Linked DNA regions of Homo sapiens: region 1 is linked to region 2. The links are contacts of gene promoters, found by promoter capture Hi-C in blood cells and fetal thymus (Javierre and others, 2016). All regions are on one chromosome and are shown on one strand. The core of a region is centred on a gene start or on the middle of the fragment in contact, and the rest is flanking DNA. Distances in the headings are between cores, read along the strand shown.

Region 1 (4,000 bases), core at 646-3,145, 270 kb after region 2:
CTTCCATCTCCCACCACTAACCAGCCCTCCTAAACTCAACCTCCCGTGGTCTGAATCCTCACAGTTCTGAGGGCACACCATGTGGTCTCACACCTCCCTGCTTTTGCGCATGCTGTGAGCTTTGCCTGAAATCTTTTTCCTGACTAGATCACCTGAGTTCTTTAGCCTTTAAACTAAGCTCAGATGTCCTCCAAGGAAGCCTCCCCAGGTCAGCTGGGCTTCCCTCCACATGGCCTCCCTCCAGGCTCTATCACTGCACTACTGAATTGTATTATGTTGCCGGTTATGCTCCTTATGGCTCAGTCTCTTGAAGCCCTGATGCCAGTGGCTGGCCCCTGGGAGGTGCTCTGCTGATGTGTGCAGGAGGGAATGAAGTGTCCTCAGGATTCGTGACTTCCCTCTGCTCCTGGCTGGTGGCACCTTCTCCCGCATTCTCCTCCGCGTCACCCTCACTGCTCTTTTCCTATATCACCCCTGGACCACTGCAGGTGGTCCTTCTAATTGGTTCTCCCTGCCTCTCCTTCTGCCTGCTGAGGCCATCCTCCACACTGGAACCACAGTGACATTTCTGAAACGCCATTCTCCAGCTTAACCTGGCCTCCCTCTTTCCACAGTCCCTGATCCAGACTCCTGAGAACAGCACATTCTCTCCCGCCTGCCTCTCCCTCCCCATGTGCCACCCTCCCTCCTCACCCTCTGCCCTGACACCTGACACCTCAGCCATGCCCAGCTACTCTTAATTCCACGCACACACTGTGTCACATCCATGGCAAACCCGTCCCCTCCACAGCCCATCCTGACATGGACAACTCCTGCTTTTTTGCTCCCGGTGTCACTTATATGCACTGGTTACACACACCCCTTCTCAAACCCAGCATAGCGCGCTTCCTGCCACGTTGCAGTTACTTGCTTTCCCAGGCTGTCTCTCCTGCCCATCTGTGAATTCCAAAACAAGGTCCTCTCAGACCTGGCTAGCAGGCCCCTCCCTGGGGCCCCGCCCTTGAGAGGGCTTCATTCCCAAAGGGAACGTACCACCAGTGTATACGCACTAGGCCTGGGGGGTGGCTAGAGAGTCAGCAGGGTGTGGACAGAGTTTGGCTGCATAGGCTGGGATAGCTATGTGCGTACTGCAGTACAGAACAGAACTAGGGGGAAGAGAAGGGGACGTGGACTGAGGGCCAGGCTGTCTCCCTGTGCATTCTGGCACAGAACTCCAAGAAGTCTGAGAATTCTACATGTAAATCTGGCTTCACAGGCTATTATGAAGGTATAATATGTCAGGATAGACACATAGAACAAAGTTCATGTAAGGGTTTGTTCATTTGATTTATAACTTTTAAAAATGGAAACAGATGGTATGCGGGCCTTCTTTTATACTCTTGCTCCAGGCCTGTACATTTCAGGAGTAGGCCTGACCCCGGCGGACACACTCGCCCTGCTTGTTCATCATGGTGCCGCCAACATGCGGCCCGCTGCCTGGCACACAGTGCCTAGCCCATAGATTGTGATGAATGAATGGCAACATCTCTTTGTCACTTTAAAGTTTATGAAGACTGTAATTTTAAAAATATATCTTGGAAGGTATATTGGAAGGTAGCTAGTTACTCAGAGATACTTTTTCTGGTAGCAAAGATAACTTAAAAATCTAGCAAAAAGAACTACATAAATAGCAGTGCCTCACATTTTATAGAGTGGTTTATAATTTTCAGAATACTTTTGCATCCATAATCTAATCTGGTCTTGATTATTCTAGACCCTAATCTAGTATTCCTGTAATGTGGGCACAGGTAGTGGGTGAGGATATGTGTTTCGGAGAGGTTAAGCCGAGCACCAGTGTTCTCAGAATCAGAGAGGCCGCACCAGGACCTCGGTCTTTTGTAGCCACTGCTCTTATTTGACAAGGAAAAGGTTTCAGCCATGTTTGGTTTCCCAACAGCCAAATACATTGTAGAAAGTCATTCTTAATCTTTCTTTTTTCAGTGCTTTTCCACATAATGGTCAAAACCTAGGCCTCTCACCCTTCTTGGGGACCTTGAACACTGGAGGGTCATTGCCAGATCTAACCAACCTCCACTACTCGACACCCCTGCCAGCCTCCCTGGACACCACCGACCACCACTTTGGCAGTATGAGTGTGGGGAATAGTGTGAACAACATCCCAGCTGCTATGACCCACCTGGGTATAAGAAGCTCCTCTGGTGAGTATCTCCTGCTTAGCAGTGACCTGGTGGCTTAATCATAGGTGGTCCCCACCCATGTGGCCTGTTCAGTGAATCATTGAATGAGAATGACTGCATCCCAGTTAGAGATGATAATGTACCTTCTTGTATCTCCTGACCCTGCGGACATTTTTCTTGGATGTTTCTGTTTCTCCTGGGTTGATGAATTTGGGGCAGCTCTGCTGAACCTCATTCCTTATCATCCTCACTCGCTGCTCTATCCAGGGACTTGGGGAATAAGATATGGGAGCCAAGAAATAAGCATCCACTCCGTGTTGGCTGAACAGTATTAGTGGCTGTCATCAACATATGATAATTTATAATTTAGGCCATCTCTCTGGATTCCTTTCATTTTCCATTAGATTTCTAAAGGCAATATTCTGCATTTTAGAAAATTTACAGTGGATATGATGAAAATATTTATACTTAATATCTGTGTGTGAAGTAGAAATCCCCCACAGTTCCAGTTAAAGATGTAGCATTAGCTATATAAAGATGCTACCCATAATGGGACTTGGGTGTTACTCTCTGGGTTTGATTGTCCACAGCTCAGACCCCATATTGAAATTATGACTACATTTGTTTGAAGCCTGACACTTTTTTTTTTTTTTTTTTGAGATGGGGTCTTACTCTGTCACCTAGGCTAGAGTGCAGTGGCACGATCTCAGCTCGCTGCAACCTCTGCTTCCCAGGTTCAAGCAATTCTTCTGCCTCAGCCTCCAGGGTAGCTGGGATTACAGGCATGTGCCACGATGCCGAGCTAATCGTTTTTGTATTTTTAGTAGAGACAGGGTTTCACCATGTTGGCCAGGCTGGTCTCGAACTCCTGACCTCAAGTGATCCACCCGCCTTGGCCTCCCAAAGTGCTGGGATTACAGGCGTGAGCCACCACTGACATACCCTTGTCAATGTCTAGGGCAGGTGATAATCCTCTTACTCCCAGTGGTGCAGTACAGCCCCTGGCCGTAACAGTCCTACCCAGAATTGTGTTGTGGAGCATTTCATTTGGAAGGGATGCTCAGTGATGGTCTCCAGGTGAAAGCAGTGTTTGCTGCCTTTCACTCTGAGACTCATCCATGCAAATCAGAACTCACCACCCAAATGAGAGTGGTCCCCTTCAGGGGGGGTCACCTGGAAGTTTTTCTAATGATTGCAGTGATGCTGCCTGGTGCAACACAATCTTAGGTTTGAAGAATTGATTTCAGAGAACACCTTTATTTTTGTTTTTTGGGTCATTTTAGTATCCTTAATAGTAGCAGGTTTTTCATCGACTGAGTCTCAGTTTTGATATTTATACATTTGCTTCATAGGAGAAATTTGATATTTGCTTCACAGGAGAAACTCTCGAAACCTTTATGCCCAGATTCAGAGTCTGGGCAATTCACCTTTTGGGTGAATCCTCAATGTATGAAGATATCTAGGGTCCCAGAAGTAAAGCAGCATCAGCACATAGCTCCTTTGGGTCTCAGGGAAGCTGGCATTTTCCAGTACAGCCTTTGACACTTTGCTTCAAGCTGAAGATCTTATGTTTAGTCACTGGTTGTCTTCTCAAAAAAGCACTATTTTATCCAGAACATGTCAGAACCAATGTCAGTTTCTGTATTTTCTTTTTTTTTTTTCTTTTTGAGACAGACTCTTGCTGTGTCGCCCAGGCTGGAGTGCAGTGGCGCCATCTCGGCTCACTGCAAGCTCTGCCTCCTAGGTTCACGCCATTCTCCTGCCTCAGCCTCCCCAGTAGCTGGGACTACAGGCACCTGCCACCACGCCCGGCTAATTTTTTT
Region 2 (4,249 bases), core at 905-3,404:
AAGGTAAGGCAGAAGGAACAGAAGCTGCAGAGAGCGGCAGGGGATAGCCACCAGCCAGATTCTGTGACTCTTCATTCATCTCCCCACTCCAGTCCCAGATTGAAGAATAATCTTCATGATCTCCTTAATGGCAAAATGCTAGAAAGACTTACCGAGGGGTCTGAAGATGCCTTCGGTTCTCCAGGTCCTGAACTCTGTTCCAGTTACAGGAGGACTGGCAATCCCTAGGTTTCCTGGGTGTTACTTTGTTACTGACCTCCTCTGAGATTTCCATTTTCCTCAATTTCGTCTAACTAAATCTAACTACGTCTAACTACCTCTGCTAACCAGACATTTGTTCATAGTCGACAGAGTTTCCGAAAATGCAATGTAGTTACCTTGCAGATGACTATAATTGTGTAGCAAAATAACTAAGATGCCACTGGCTATATGGAAAAAAAAATTACTTAGGATTTTGATACCTTTTATGGTTTATTTCCCCTTTTGGCCTGTGAACTTCATGAAGGTAATGGTTATGTATGATTCCCGAGTAATCACAGTTCCCAGAACGATCTTTTTTTTTTTTCTTTCTTTTTTTCTTTTTTGAGACGGAGTCTTGCTCTGTCGCTCAGGATGGAGTCCAGTGGCGCGATCTCGGCTCACTGCAAGCTCCACCTCCCGGGTTCACATCATTCTCCTGCCTCAGCCTCCCGAGTAGCTGGGACTACAGGCGCCCGCCACCACGCCCGGCTAATTTTTTCTATATTTAGTAGAGACGGGGTTTCACCATGTTAGCCAGGATGGTCTCGATCTCCTGACCTCGTGATCCTCCCGCCTCGGCCTCCCAAAGTGCTGGGATTACAGGCGTGAGCCACCACGCCCTGCCCCCAGAACGATCTTGAGAACAGAATGTTCCCAATAAATATCCACTGGAAAATGCACCTTATTTTTGTTGAAGGAATGGTGGAATTAGCATCAAAGGGATCTTCAACATTAACTCGGGCCGGGCACGGTGGCTCACGCCTGTAATCCCAGCACTTTAGGAAGCCGAGGCGGGCGGATCACGAGGTCAGGAGATGGAGATCATCCTGGCTAACATGGTGAAACCCCGTCTCTACTAAAAATACAAAAAATTAGCCGGGTGTGGTGGCGGGCGCCTGTAGTCCCAGCTACTCGGGAGGCTAAGGCAGGAGAATGGTGTGAACCTGGGAGGCAGAACTCGCAGTGAGCCGAGATCGTGCCACTGCACTCTAGCCTGGGCGACAGAGCGAGACTCCGTCTAAAAAAAAAAAAAAAAAAAAACTCTATGGCTGGTAATTCTAAGCGTTTTATAATACATCACAAAATGTTCTTTTATTTTTCTAAATTGCACTGAATCAACAAACGGAGTAGACAGGCACATTTTCTTCACTTTAAGGAAAGACTTTGTTGTTTTTTAGCTAGGGGCCGACCCAAAGTGATCACTGGCTCTCACATGAGACCCAGGAGCCTCCCCAGTTTGAAGCCCGATATCACATTTCCCAGAATACTTGATGCCCTCGCCCGCCTCCTCTGGCTATCAACCAGACGGAAAGGGGATGTGCCTGGGAGTTTGATGCCAAGGGAAGGATGCGGAATGTCTGTTTTCTACTAAGGGCTTCTGCTGGGCCTTTCCAATGTCCAGTTTGAGTTGGTCTGGGACCTGGCCTCCGCAAACACCCTGCAGGCTCCGGCCGCCGGGGATGAGGTGGAAGACTGGGCAGAAGAGAGGCCGCAAAGGCCCGAGGGCTGAGCTGCTCTGCGCTGGGGAGGGGCGAAGTGCCAGAGCGCGGGAGACCTCATGGTGGGCACCAGGCTGCTCCGCGGTAGGTGGGTGAGGCCAGGAGATTCACATCTGCAGATGCCACAGTGAGGATACAGCATTTAGATCCCTCGGCTCCAAACAGGCGGTTCCGGGGGACCGGTAGCTGGGGAATTGGGTTTAGCACTTTCCAACGCTTGGAACTGGACATCCACGGCTCCGAGTCCTTTGAGGTCTTGCTCGGGACTACGTTTCCCAGAAGGCTAGGCGATAATTGACAGCTCTATCAGCCTATGGACAGAGAAAAATTCTAGCCATGGAAACTGAAAAGCCAATAGCAAGAGGATGGGGGCGGTACTTTCCGGCCGCTGGCTGTCGAAGCCGGAGTCCCACCTGTGTCCCCACAGCCCTGTCACGAATCCCGGTCGGGTTCTGGGAGGCACAGCCTCGGGGTTGCGGGCCGGGTGCGGCTCGGCGGTGGAGGACTCACTTCCTGCTCCATCCCCGGCTGGGCCCTGGGGCGGTGAGTGATTCAAGGAGGGAGACCGCGGCGGCAGCGGCGCGCTGCTGAGGGGCGTGGAGGGGGCTTGCCCGCCACCCAGACGTTTTCTCAGCGGGGTTCCCGCGCTGGCCTTTGGGAGCCCCCGGGTCTTGCTGGGCTGTGGGAGAGGTAGCTGTGGTCTCTATACCGTCGGCGGGATAAGTCATTCTCTTAATCAGTTTTCTTGCTTCTCGATGGTGGTCCCAGGGTTTCAGCTGATCTGTGACCCTCTGACCGCCGCACCCCGGTTAGGGCGCGAGCACCGAGAAGAAGAACGGGGTTCGGCCCCACGCGTGCAGTCATGTTCCTATTAATAAACCCGGTGAACGCACTGGAGCTTCTCACAGTGGCACTTAGTCACAGCCCCTCAGCGCTGTGGGGCCTTTGAGGTCACCTGTGCATGGGGAAAGGGACGGGCTGGGAAACAGGGTTTCTATAACCGTGGCTAAGACGTCTCCCCTCCTCAGTGGCGCTGTCTCCAGCAAGTGGGCCCTGCAGCTGTGTTTTGTAATGAATGTAGAAATAAAAATTATACTCAAAACTCTTTTTTTTTTTTAGACGGAATTTCGCTCTTGTTGCCCAGGCTGGAATGCAATGGCGCTATCTCCTTTCACTGCAGTCTCCACCTCCCGGGTTCAGGCGATTCTCCTGCCTCAGCCTCCCAAGTAGTTGGGATTACAGGCGTGTGCCACCACACCCGGCTAATTTTGTATTCTTAGTAGAGACAGGGTTTCACCATGTTGGCCAGGCTGATCTCGAACTCCTGACCCCAGGTGATCCGCCCGTCTCGTCTTCCCAAAGTGCTGGGATTACAGTCATGAGCCACAGCACCTGGCCAATACTGAAAACTCTTATTACAATTTTTACTTTCTAATTACATTATTGTTGTTTGTTAAAGTTTTAAACCAGAGAGATGGTTTTTAGATCCTTAAAAACTCAATACTTTATAAATGACCAATAATAATGTCTGTAAATACAAAAATATTTCCCCCAAAAGTGTGTGTGTGTGTGTGTGTGTGTGTGTGTGTGTGTGTGTGTTCCAGTAGTAAATAGGTGATTTGTAGTGGGACAAAAGATGTGAAAGAGTAAAACTTCTTCACCACAGTCTGGTCCTTCCTCCCTTGAAATGCAATATTCTTTGTAGTGGGTGGTCATGCTGGCTGCATTTTTTTTTTTTTTAAGGGAGAGACAGGGGCTCACTCTGTTGCTAGGCTGGGGTGCAGTGGCGCCATCATAGCTCACTGCAGCCTGGAACTCCTGGGCTGAAGTGATCCTCCCACTTCAGCCTCCTGAGTAGCTGGGACCACAAGTGCATGCCACCATGCCTGGCTGATTTTTAAAAGTTCTTTGTAGAGAAAGAGGTCTCAATATGTTGCTGAGGCTGGTTTATTGGAAACTTTTTAAGGGAAAAAACATTATCTTAATTTCTATGTGACTCCTATGCCTGGCAACATATTAATTGTTGAATAAATGACTGATCCATCCAGTAATTCACTCTTGACTATCCTCCAAAAAGTAATGTTTTTCATGATATTGCTGTCGATTTATTAATATATTAATGATTGGTTTCAGCCCCTAAGAGTTGTGTTTTGTGCTTATTCCCACTTTCACTTATTTTTACAACCTATCCATGTCTTCTTTTTTTTAAAAAAAAAATGTCTTTTTCAGTCTTATTTCTGACTCCATTAAGATCTTGAAATAGAATGGTATCCAACACAGTTCCCTTTGGGGTTCTGTATAATCTGTCCCTTGAGGTTGACACCAAATCTGCAAGCCAAGAAGTTAGCTGCTCCCATAACTAATATGAGTATAGTTAAGGCCACAATTTCCTTGCTTGCTGAGGAAAATGAAGTTGGGGAGAATCAAAAGCTTTCCAGAAATCAAATTACACCTGCCAACTCTCTCCTTTGTTTACCTTGTTCATCGTGGACAATTTGTTCCTCAAAAAG

The links. Contacts are between HindIII fragments. The CHiCAGO score rates a contact against its expected background, and 5 or more counts as called.
Region 1: a fragment that was not itself captured here is called in contact with the fragment with the promoter of ZNF774 in region 2 in 6 of 17 cell types (total B cells, activated CD4 T cells, naive CD8 T cells and 3 more); the score reaches 8.1 in total B cells.

The regions. Positions count from the first base shown.
Region 1 is chr15:90,623,796-90,627,795 of GRCh38, forward strand. It overlaps CRTC3 (CREB regulated transcription coactivator 3), which reads left to right. Exons shown (of 15, transcript NM_022769.5): 10 at 1,981-2,198. All of the region lies in intron 3 of CRTC3-AS1 (CRTC3 antisense RNA 1), which reads right to left. Among named protein-coding and RNA genes, the nearest start is that of LINC01585, 34 kb to the right of the region's middle. The HindIII fragment of the contact is 9,195 bases long and covers 1-4,000 here.
Region 2 is chr15:90,350,130-90,354,378 of GRCh38, forward strand. It overlaps ZNF774 (zinc finger protein 774), which reads left to right and starts at 2,155. Exons shown (of 4, transcript NM_001004309.3): 1 at 2,155-2,282. The HindIII fragment of the contact is 4,226 bases long and covers 1-4,167 here.